Linked DNA regions of Homo sapiens: all the other regions are linked to region 4. The links are contacts of gene promoters, found by promoter capture Hi-C in blood cells and fetal thymus (Javierre and others, 2016). All regions are on one chromosome and are shown on one strand. Each heading gives the region's core, a stretch centred on a gene start or on the middle of the fragment in contact. The rest is flanking DNA. Distances are from core to core; before and after follow the strand shown.

Evidence for each region. Contacts are between HindIII fragments. The CHiCAGO score rates a contact against its expected background, and 5 or more counts as called.
Region 1: a fragment that was not itself captured here is called in contact with the fragment with the promoter of GPX8 in region 4 in 7 of 17 cell types (total CD8 T cells, total CD4 T cells, activated CD4 T cells and 4 more); the score reaches 7.9 in total CD8 T cells.
Region 2: a fragment that was not itself captured here is called in contact with the fragment with the promoter of GPX8 in region 4 in 1 of 17 cell types (neutrophils); the score reaches 5.1 in neutrophils.
Region 3: a contact is called between a fragment that was not itself captured here and the fragment with the promoter of GPX8 in region 4, in 1 of 17 cell types (total CD8 T cells). The highest score is 5.3, in total CD8 T cells.

Annotation. Positions count from the first base shown.
Region 1 is chr5:54,530,460-54,533,246 of GRCh38, reverse strand. The region is part of intron 1 of SNX18 (sorting nexin 18); the gene reads right to left. Among named protein-coding and RNA genes, the nearest start is that of SNX18, 14 kb to the right of the region's middle. The HindIII fragment of the contact is 2,407 bases long and covers 192-2,598 here.
Region 2 is chr5:54,423,681-54,426,703 of GRCh38, reverse strand. No RefSeq gene overlaps it. Among named protein-coding and RNA genes, the nearest start is that of HSPB3, 31 kb to the left of the region's middle. The HindIII fragment of the contact is 626 bases long and covers 1,079-1,704 here.
Region 3 is chr5:54,495,598-54,498,513 of GRCh38, reverse strand. No RefSeq gene overlaps it. Among named protein-coding and RNA genes, the nearest start is that of SNX18, 21 kb to the left of the region's middle. The HindIII fragment of the contact is 3,542 bases long and covers 1-2,916 here.
Region 4 is chr5:55,158,738-55,161,794 of GRCh38, reverse strand. GPX8 (glutathione peroxidase 8 (putative)) reads right to left here and starts at 1,624. Exons shown (of 3, transcript NM_001008397.4): 1 at 1,399-1,624; 2 at 540-801. The coding sequence starts at 1,602. All of the region lies in intron 2 of CDC20B (cell division cycle 20B), which reads left to right. The HindIII fragment of the contact is 5,226 bases long and covers 437-3,057 here.

The sequences.
Region 1 (2,787 bases), core at 146-2,645, 630 kb after region 4:
AACTATCAAAATTCAAAGGTAATTTAAAATTCACTTTTTAATTCATAAATATAATAAATGACAAAGAGAACTTTTGAACCATTTTGAAAAGGAGGGAAGAGGATCAAGACAAGCATAGTCAACTGCAAAAAGAAAAAAACCTGGTCACTTGATGGAAAAAAAATCACTTAAAGAATTCAGGCCTCTAAGCTTGATTTCATCCTGAAAATATCATTAGTCTGTTTCAGGTAAAAGCATTGTTATAATATTCTAATTAAGTAGTTCTTATAGCTTCATTCAGCAATCACCTAATGTCTAAAGGCAGAATGACATTCAGTTTGAATACAAATATTCACTTGCGTATAAATACCTTAAAAGATGATTATTTTAGTTACTATGCATATATAGTCATACAGTTTACCTCATTCCAAAAATGAAGAGAGAAATCACATGATTGTACCTCTTGTGGTTTATTTGGTAAAACTGTTTCTTGCTGGTAATTTTATATACATAAAGGTTCTTGTGTTCCAGCCCATAATGAATATTAAACGTGATAAAATTACTAGGGTGATAGTTTCAGGAGAATTCTGAAAACACAGTGTCTTTATTTGAGAAGTGTTTTTGGGTATGGTGGCAATGTTGATTTGCCTGTAGCCAAGCAAATATAGATGAAGACTTTAAAATTTGAGAGTAAGAAAGAAAACCATGTATTGTTTCTTTTCTTAAAGATCTGATACCCACAGAATCTTAATAAAATAAGGTAGACATACTATCCTTGATAATGCTGACCATACAATGAAACTTTTAAAAAACTAACTTTGTAAAAGTAAAACCCATATAATGGTTCAAATTCAGAGAACACAAATAGGGGCCTCAGGTCTGCAGTGCCCAGTTCTTTAATTACCTGAGGCATGTGCACGCATACTGGTCTCTACAAAAAAAAAAAAAGAAAAAAAAAAAGCAACAATAGATATGTTTGCAAGCTGCCAACACTTTCGACACGTGACATACAACAAGCATATCTGTACCAAAGAGTGAACTTGGGAAAGTACCTTTAATGAAAGGTAAAACCTTATTTTCTTTTTTTCTAGAAAGATAAAGGGAGACCCAAGCCAAAATAAATCTAAATAGAAGCTGCTAAAATAAATCTAAACAGAAGTCCCTCTAGATGGGGCCAGGAAGAGAGTAAAGTGGCCCCTGCTCTTTACGAGAGAAGCCAAGGCAAGGCAAGATAGAGCACACACGCAGAGCCAGGGCACTTATGGGACCCTATCTGAGTGCACTGTGGTTCATGCTGGAGTTAGCAGAATATCTGCAAATAATGCATTTCTCGTTTTCAAGTAATTTTCCAGTTTTTGTCTGAAATTGTAAACTCCATTGTCCCAATTGCCATGTATGCCACGGTGGTACCGACTGGTGAGCAGCACAAGCACTCTTCGTTATCCTGAGTGCTGCTTCACATCCCTTCACGATCACGAGGCTGTGGAGATAATTCCTAACTCAGCTGTTTTAAATGTAAGGACACGCCTCACTCCTGTGGTTTTCCCGCTGCCTCGCACTGGCAGGGCCCAGGTGTCCGGTGGCTGTGAGTCTTTACTCTGACCACATCCGGACATCCTTGTATGAAATCATAAATAACCAACTAAAGACAGAACAAAGCATCTAAAATTGTATCAAGTTTTAAAATATATGTGAAATACAAATCATAAAACGTGAAAATTTACAGATTATCCACACTAACATCTATCAGCATTTAGTTAAAAATGTCTTGCTGTAGACAACACGTGGCTTTGGTGAAAATCGCAAATGTCAACATAACTAAACACAATAAAAACACAATAAAAGAAAAAGGATTTTCTAAGACTCCCTTCAGCCCCATTCCTTGTCTTTCCTTTTAGTCCTGCTCCTCTTCTCAGTCTGCCTACCTCTTCTATCACTGGCTTCACTACTTTCTACCACCCAAACTTAAAACCTCTAAGGTAACACTAGATTCCTCAGGAGAGCCAGCGCCTCACCAGGTCCTGCCATGATACCTGGCAGGTGTCTCGAGTTCACCTGTTCCTTTCCAAAGCCAACTCTTCCCCTGGAGTACTCTAAGAGCCTCCTCATCTCTGCCCAACCAACAGGAGTAACTTCCAAAAGCCCTGCCTCAGGGAGCCAGGGTGCACCAGTGAAGGATGCTTCCAGGAACTCGCAGTTTAAATTTCTGTGGTTTGGATGGGCAGGGTGACTCACACCTGTAATTCCAGCACTTTGGGAGGCCGAGACGGGTAGATCACCTGAGGTCAGGAGTTTGAGACAAGCCTGGCCAACATGATGAAACCTCGTCTCTACTAAAAATACAAAAAATTAGCTGGGTGTGGTGGCGGGCACCTATAATCCCAGCTACTCAGGAGGCCGAGGCAGGAGAATCGCTTGAACCCAGGAGGTGGAGGTTATGGTGAGCCGAGATCACGCCACTGCACTCCAGCCTGGGCAACAAGGGCGAAACTGTCTCAAAAAAAAAAAAAAAAAAAAAAAAAATTTCTGTGGTTCAGCTCCTGTCTGCAAAATGGGTATAAGAAGAGTATTTACCTCAGCTTTTTTGAGGTAAATACTTTTTTAAGCTCCTCTGAAGCTTAAATAGATATAATGAATATAAAACACAAAGCACCATGCCTGGCACTCAGGAAGTCTTCAAAACATGATAGCTATTTTGATTATGATTAAACGTCACTCTTTGGTTTGAAACCTTTAGTGGCTGCTGACTGCCTGTAGAATAAGTCAATTTTCTAACAAGCATGTTATATATTGTAGCGTAAGAAATAC
Region 2 (3,023 bases), core at 142-2,641, 730 kb after region 4:
ATGCTGAAGGGGCCATGTGACTTCTGGCCTTATTTCTCCCCAAACACTATATACATGGCATACCACAGAAATAGAGAAAACATCTCTCCAGCTGCTCAGAGGTGACATTTGGCCCTATAAAACTGGAGAAGGCACTGCTTTGTACCCCAGAGTCTCAACAGCTCTTTCAACCACTGCCTAACACCCCTAAATCCAGAAATCAGACCTAGTTTCTGAGGTTGAGCCAGAAAAAAGGGAAATGAAGAAGGTAGTGGTCTTACCACCGTCTTTCCCCTCCAGAGAAATTTCTTCTTTCCCTTTCTTCATGCAAATCACCTATATAATTTGAAGCTATGGGACCAGCAATAACACAACCAGAAGCATAGTGAAGCACAGTGGAGGAATTATACCCCTGCCCACATGGTTCAAAAACAATTTCTTCTCAATGGAAAGAAAAGTCAATTTTTTCTTTTTTTTTCTTTCTTTTCTTTTTTTTTTTTTTGAGATGGAGTCTAGCTCTGTTGGCCAGGCTGGAGTGCAGTGGCATGACCTCAGCTTGCTGCAACCTCTACCTCTCGGGTTCAAGCCATTCTCCCATTCCCCTGCCTCAGCTTCCTGAGTAGCTGGGATTACAGGTGTGTTCCACCATGTCCAGCTAATTTTTGTATTTTTAGTATAGACGGGGTTTCACCATGTTGGCCAGGCTGGTCTCGAACTCCTGACCTCAAGTGATCCACCCACCTTGGACTCCCAAAGTGCTGGTATTACAGACGTGAACCACCGTGTCTGGTCCCCAATATTTTTTGCTTTTGAGGACTCAAAGAGGCTGTTTCCAATAGTTTTTGGAGAAAGGGTGGTTTTTTTGTGGGCATGTCAGCCTGATTTTTCTGTTGATGCCATCCTGCTGCAGGCTGTTGATTCAGAACATTGGATATTCTGTGGCTGATGAGCCAAGTGCCCACTGTGAAGGAGATGATAAACTCATATACAGTGACAGCAACTCAGGATTCTCTTATCAATTCCCTTCCTATCATATAAACCAAGAGAAGTGGCCTATGGGAAAAGTGAGCAGGAAAAACACAATTTAATTTTCAAAGCTTCAAAAGATTAACATGCTACATATTTTTAAAATCCACAACATTAGAAAAAGATATCTGCTTATGCTTCTTGGAAAGAAAGTAGTAACTAAGGTTGACAGTGCCCAGCCTAGAAGTCAGCTGCAGGCAATTCTCTCAAACGCTGACTGGTTTTTGCTTCTCTCTGGGCAAGGGAGCACCAGAGGCTGGCGATACATAGCAGCTTATAAGAAAGGGGAGGCTTTGTGTTAGCCCATCCAATACATGGGCATGGATAGAAAATACCTGGGAAGAAAAGCATGGTGGAAAAGAAATAGATACTAATAGCCCATTAAATCCTTTCTAGTGGTATCTGAAGTGAGTGGAGGCCAAAAAGAGAAACATGACATAAGGGGAAGCCCCTTTGCTGGGGCTCTCAGAAGGCACCAGGCTTCCTAGGATTCTCAGGAAGAGAAGCTCATTAACAGTGTCAGATATCCCAGCTGTAACTTCTAGACATGAGCATCCTCCAACACTGAAGGGTTAAAGGTAAGCAGCCCAATCACTTGTTATCCTGCAATTTCTGTAAACAAAAGCTGATTTTTCTAAAACTTAATGCTAATTTCTACCAAGAAGACAGGAAATATAGCTGACCTCCAAATCTGAAGCTTACCACCTTGCCGTTTCTTATTATGTCTTGTATTATGGCTTCCTATTTCTTTTACACTTCAGTTGGAACTCTGTAAGAGAATGATGTCTTCCGAGTGGCTAAAAATAATTTTGTAGTAATAATAACAGTAGCTAGCTTCTAAGTGCTTAATGTGTTGCTGGCCATATATGAAACTCTTCATTTGCTGCTCTTAGGCTTTACGACGACCTTTTCCAGAATAGAAAATGGAGGCACAGAAAGTTTAAATAGCTTGCTTGCAGGGAGGAAACGTGCAGGGATGGGAACAGTGAAGCCCTACAGTCCATGCTCCTAACCACTGGGCTACACTGTGAAGTGGCTATTTACCCCCAATCTCCAACTACTCCATATAAGATTAGAGAACTCAGCCAGGTGCACTGGCTCATACCTGTAATCCCAGCATTTTGGGAGGCCAAGGCGGGTGGGTCACTTGAGGTCAGGAGTTTGAGACCAGTCTGGCTAACATGGCAAAATCTCGTCTCTACTTAAAATACAAAAATTAGCGGGGTGTGGTGGTGGGCACCTGTAATCCCAGCTACTCAGGAGGCTGAGGTTGGAGAATGGCTTGAACCCGGGAGGTGAAGGTTGCAGTGAGCCAAGGTCATGCCACTGCACTCCAGCCTGGGTGACAGAGCAAGACTCCATCTAAAAAAAAAAAAAAAAAAAAAGATTAAAGGACTATGCCTGGAAGTGCCATGAAAATGGAGGAAAATGCCAGGCGGTTGGCACAGGCATTTCGTGAAAACTTCTAGAAATAAAATAAGGGGGAATGTATGTTTAAAATACACACACAAAACCAATTTTCAGATGGTAAGAGGTGGTTTGAAATAATCAGTTCTGAGTGTGTATTTTAAACTCATATTCCACCCCTGCCACCCATTTTATTTCCAGAAGTTCCCATGAAACGTGTGTGCCAACTGCACTATCACGGTACTTCTAGGCATAGTCCCCTACTCTTACATGGGGTGGGTGGGGACGTGGAGGTGCAAACAGTGAATCAGGAAAAGCAAAACCTACTGGAGCAAATGCCATCTAGAACTAGTTACTTCCATTTTAGATACATTTGAATGTCATTTCATTTTTTTGTCTTGAACAAAATATATTTATTACCTTATAGTCTAGGATGCAATATGGTCCATTAACCAAGTAATTAAAACCAGTTGTGATGAGTTAAGTAAAGGGGACTCACAAAAAAGCAGATGAAAATGCTTAAGACTGTGATATGGCCAGAAGTGAGCTGTGAGGTACAGTGAACAAATTCAAAACTTATTTTTTTTCTCCAATCCTCCTTTTTTGAATTT
Region 3 (2,916 bases), core at 6-2,505, 660 kb after region 4:
TGTCTTAAGGGCATGTTCCTGCTGCAGTTAACTAGCCCAACCTATTCCTTTAATTCGGCCCATTCCTTCCTTTCCCATAAGGGATACTTTTAGTTAATCGAATATTTATAGAAACAATGCTAATGACTGGTTTGCTGTTAATAAATATGTGGGTAAATCTCTGTTTGGGGCTGTCAGCTCTGAAGGCTATGAGATCCCTGATTTCCCACTTCACACCTCTATATTTCTGTGTGTGTGTCTTTAATTCCTCTAGCGCTGCTGAGTTAGGGTCTCCCCGACCGAGCTGGTCTCAGCAGGTCTGTTTTGGGAAAGGGCTGTTATTGTCTTTGTTTTAAATTATAAACTAAGTTTCTCCTGATGTTAGTTTGGCCTACACCCACGAATAAACAAGGACAGCTTGGAGGTTAGAAGCAAGATGGAGTTAGTTAGGTCAGATCTCTTTTACTGTCTCAGTTATAATTTTGCAACAGCAGTTTCAGTATGACAAGATGACCAGGAAAAGCACCATAAACAAAGGTAAGTTCTGCTATGCAGATTTAAGTCAATGCCTTCTCCATTGATTAAGAGTCTAGTGATCTAGTGTCCTCCTCTTCCTGGTGTAGACAGGGACACAGTCTCACAAATGGAGATTTCTTTGATAGATGTAAATTTCTCTCACACAGGATAACTTTTCAGAGCCTCTACTGTGTCTACAATTTCTCAAAATAACAGCTCAAAATAATCCTTATGTTAAAGAGACATATTTTGGCCTGGCATATTCTGGTCTCCTAAAGTCATATTTTGGCGTGACTTGTCCTGGACCCAATTAATAGAGTGTTCTCATTTTTTATAGCAACATAATATCCCATTATGTGGACATACTGAGGGAGCACAGGGAATTTCACCCCAAAATATGGCTCACTGCAGCCTGAACTCCTGGGCCCAAGCAGTTCTCCTGTTACAGCAGGCAGATACCTAGACATGAGCAGGAGGGGGAGCCTGAAGAAAGGGAGGTCTGGAAAATCTCACACCTCAGAGACCACTGGAAATCTGCATGCTAGATATGAGCATAAAGGAGGGAAAATACCTGTGCACGAAGAAACACCTCAGAACAACTCTTAAGATGCCCAGTAATCACTCACGCTGCAGCTAATCGGTCAGAATGGAGCTAGCCACATGCTGATAAGGAGGGGATGGCTGGGCACAGTGGATCACGCCTGTAATCCCAGAACTTTGGGAGGCCGAGGTGGGTGGATCACCTGAGTTCAGGAGTTCAAGACCAGCCTGGCCAACATGGTGAAACCCTGTCTCTACTAAAAATGCAAAAATTAGCTGGGCATGGTGGCAAGTGCCTGTAATTCCAGCTACTCAGGAGGTTGAGGCAGGTCAATGGCTTGAGCCTGGGAGGCAGAGGTTGCAGTGAGCCGAGATCATGCCACTGCACTCCAGCCTGCACAATTGAGACTCTGTCTCAAAAAAAAAAAAAAGGGCAAAGGGGAAATTTCTAAGAGTCTGAGAGATATGCAGGGGTAATATGTACACATATAACTGCTATATGACCTTCCTAGAGGGCAACGCTAGAGGGTAATAAGCAAAGCTGCCATTAGGATTGTACCCAACACCAGTCCTTGCATGTGCCTTAACTACCAGTAAAGGAGAATCCCATAAACCTAGAGCAGGAACTAGGCAGGAAAAAAGCAGGGACTTAATGCAGAAGGGGGAAGCTAGATAAAGATAGAGGTGGAGACTTGAGACAGAGGTGGGAACTTAAAGAAACAGTCCCAACATAACAAAAATCTCAATGCAGAACCCTAGGGGCTGCTGGCTCATTCTCTTTCCAGCAGCCCACTCTGACTTTTCTTTCAGAGCATACTATCTCTTTAAACAGACTGCTACTACTACTGCTCCCAGCAGGGTCAGCCCACTCCTCTCTTGGAGCATATTCTTATTTCCTTAATATGTCTTTGTTTACTTTACTAATTGGTCTCTTGGCCAAATTTCTTCTCCCAAGAAGACTAAGAACAGAGGACTCCACACATCCTGGTAACACTCCCACCTCAGCCTCCCAGCTGGCTTGGACTACAGGTGTGCACCACCATGCCTGGCTAATTAAAAAAAAAAAAAAAAATTGTGGCCAGGCATGGTGGCTCACACCTGTAATCCCAGCACTCTGGGAGGCCGAGGCAGGTGGATCACATGAGGTCAGGAGTTCGAGACCACCCTGGCTAACATGGTAAAACACCGTCTCTACTAAAAATACAAAAATTAGCTGGGCGTGGTGGCGCATGCCTGTAATCCTAGCTGCTTGGGAGGTTGAGGCAGGAGAATCGCTTGAACCCAGGAGGTGACGGTTGCAGTAAGCTGAGATCTCACCACTGCACTCCAGTCTGGGAAACAGAGCGAGACATTGTCTCAAAAAAAAAAAAATTTTGTGTAGAGATGGGGGTCATGCCATGTTGCCAGGCTGGTCTCCAGTTGATCTTCCTGCCTCAGCATTCCAGAGTGCTGGGATTACAGGCATGAGCCACCATGTCCCATGCTGATCAAAATTTTTAAATGAGTTGGAATTAGTCAAAAACAGGATTGGTATTCCAGGTAGGAAGAGCATCAAAGACACAAAAAATGTTAAATGCCATGGTGGATATTAGGAAATACAAGAAATAAGTAATATTACAGTGTAAAACAACACAAGGTGAGATGTAGAAGGAATTAAGGCAAAAACATGTGTAAGGAAATTGGACTGTATGAGGATGAAAGGTGTTTGAAATGAGAGAAATGACAAGCTCAGGCAGTAGTAAGACATCATAGAATGGTGGCCAGCATGATGCTAGAAGCTACTTCAGGGAACTACTGGATTGACACATGATAAAGATAGACAATGGCAGTTGGGAGGTCAAGAAAAGGGCAGAAGAACAATGCTTAGAAGGTAAAACTGGC
Region 4 (3,057 bases), core at 375-2,874:
GGAGAAATAGCCTAACACTACTGCCCTCTGAAAAAACCAAGTTATATGTTTTTGGATTTTAGCAAAAATCTGGTAAGCTGACATATTCATCTTTGAGAATATTGTTTCAGATAAGAAAGACAACATAAAATTAGCCACAAACATATGTTAACTAATAATGCCCAGCACTATTCATGAGAGCTGTGTGGCTATAATGACGGGAAGGGACATTTCTCCAGATGCTAGTTACAAGAGAGGAGAATTAAGATATTTTGTGAAAATAGCCATGGGCACACTTTAAGTAAATTCTTCAGGAAGATGGTAATAAGGAATAAAATATATTGGAATAGAATTCTTTTACCATCTAAGAAGCTAAAACATTGATTTCAGGGGAGCATAACTCCTAGAAGTTACAAAGGATGAGATTCTGGCTCTTTGATGATAGTTTTATGAAGCTTTCCCGATACAACGTTTCAAATGAAATAGGAAAGTATTGTCCTGGTATAATTGTTTAAAAATGAAAAGCAATTTAAAACAGCATATGCAAGGCAGATATTTACCAACAAGAAATCTAAATGCAGGTTCTCCTTCAGATCCTAGAATCTTAATCTTGTGGAAGATGGGGAAAGTTACTCCGTAGTTTTTTCTTGCAAAAGATTCTACTTCCTTGCTTGGGCGGGGCTCCGATTCTCCAAACTGATTGCAGGGAAAAGCCAACACGCTGAAGTGGGATGGTCCAAACTCTTTGTGCAGTTCCTTCAGCCCTAAGTAATTTCTGTCTGTGAGTTGGCAGTCACTGGCCACGTTTACAACTAGTGAAACCTCCCGGAAAAAGAAAAAAATCCAACCGGAAAGTGAAGCAAAAGATTTTAAAAAATTCTGCAAGTAGTTAAAATCCTAAACAATTTGGGGGGGACTATAACCTCTGATTGATGTTTTTTTCATATTTTTGGACATACACAGTTCTATTGAAAACTGTAACCTAGATGCCTGGGTTAAGGCCCTGAAATAGTACTGCCATTAAAAAAGCATTAGATACTCATGAAAGTTTATTTTTAAATTAAAGATAAAACTATGATCCTTGATAAGTTCTTTTTAAAGTTATTAGATTATAGAACCAATACTTTTATTAATAAATGTCATCATGTTCACATTACTAACTATAAGTATTTTCCAAACAACTTTACATGTCAATTCAGCACAAAATTAAAGCATTTTAAAGAAAACGAGATAATCGGAATTTATTATTTAGAAGCAAACTATCAGAACTGTAATAACTAAAGTGATGTACTAATACCATTACTCTGAAGACTAAATTCCAACTTATGACCATGTAACAGCAAAAAATTGATTTTATTAAGAGGAATAAACAGAGACAAGGAAAAATGATAACAATAAAAATCAGATGATGCAACTTACTTTGCCTTTATACTTTTCCAGAGAAACAGTTCTTCCTTTTGCATCCTTCACTTCAAAGGCATAAAAGCTGTTGATTTTAGGTTTGAGGAATTTTAGTTGTAGAAGAAATAGCGTTACTGTGCATAGAACTATAGACAGCAAAACTGCAAATACCTTTGCTCTGGGCCCGGAACATTTTAGCGGGTAAGCTGCAAGAGGCTCCATGTTGGAGGATTCTAGAGGGAAGTCTCAGCAGCCTGGAATTCAAGGAGGAGCTGAAACTTGAAACCGGCTTAGTTTAACGGAAAACCAGGAAGGACAGGCTGACTGCTTTCACTGCTAAGGAACAGAAAGACCACTTCTCAGAGGGGAAATGAAGCGAAACTCCTGAATGAAGCAAGGAGCTCTACAGAATTTCAAAGTATTTGTGATGTAATTATAATTTTTGCTAGAAAAATCAGGACATTTTTGGTAGGTCTTTGACATTCTCCCTACAAAGAAAATATTTCGCCAGAAGATGGTGCTCTTGTAACTCGAAAGCTACGGAGGGCTCATTCCCCATGCTAAGCTGTGTATTTATTGAGCAACTGTTTGGATGCAGAGGATGGAGTACGATGCTCAGCAATAGTTTAGAATGTAGATTAAATGTGACCTACTCATATGGTGTATACCCTGAAGGACGTTACTATTACATGTATGGGTTAAACATGCTATATGAGTTCAGGAAATTTATAGTGGAAAGAGCAGGGAAATATCTGAAAAAGGCTATTTACCCTGATTCATCTAGCTAAGGCAATCAAATACCAAGTGAATACAGTCAAAATAAATATGTTAAAAACAGTGAAGGTGTTAAAAGAAACCCTTCTCTATCATAGAGCAAACTATAGTCCAGTGTTTTTCAAATTTCTACTCATGACCCCCAGTCAGCAGTGCACTTTACAACATAACTGGGTACAAACAACACACAACTGAGAAACAACACTTCTCCTTTGAACTGTGATGCACCCCCACCTGTTGCATTTTTAAACAACCCAGTTCTGACCTATCAAAATGATTTCATCATTCACCGATGCACTACAACCTGTAGATGGAAAAAACTGAGGCCGGGCATGGTGGCTCACGCCTGTAATCCCAGCACTTTGGGAGGCCTAGATGGGAGGATCACTTGAGCCCATGAGTTCAAGACCAACTTGGGCAAGAAAGCGATACCCCTGTCTCTAAAAAAGAATTTTAATTAGCTGGTTGTGGTGGTGCATGGCTGTGGTCCCAGTTATACAGGTGGCAAAGGTGGGAGGATCGCTTGATCCCAGGAGGTTGAGGCTGCAGTGAGTCGTGTTTGTAGACTGCAGCCTGGGTGACAGAGTGAGACTATCTTAAAATCAGAACAAAAGAAGAAGAGGGAAAAAAGCAAAAATTGAACTCGATAATAAAGTAGTAATTTAACAGTTAAATAAGGCAATTCTACCAAAAAAAATCCCTGAAAACAAACAAACCCTGCAAAACCCACCTCTACTTGGGCACGTCATCTAATTGCTTCGTTTTTTCTCTTTATTTCCCTCCCCTGGCTGTTGCCTGGCACAGGGGGCCTAACTTTGCTGTTGCTAACGGTCATGAATTTTAGGGGTAGGTATGGGGAGGCAATTGAGGGCTGTATATCCTAAAAGCCATTCACTTTCAATT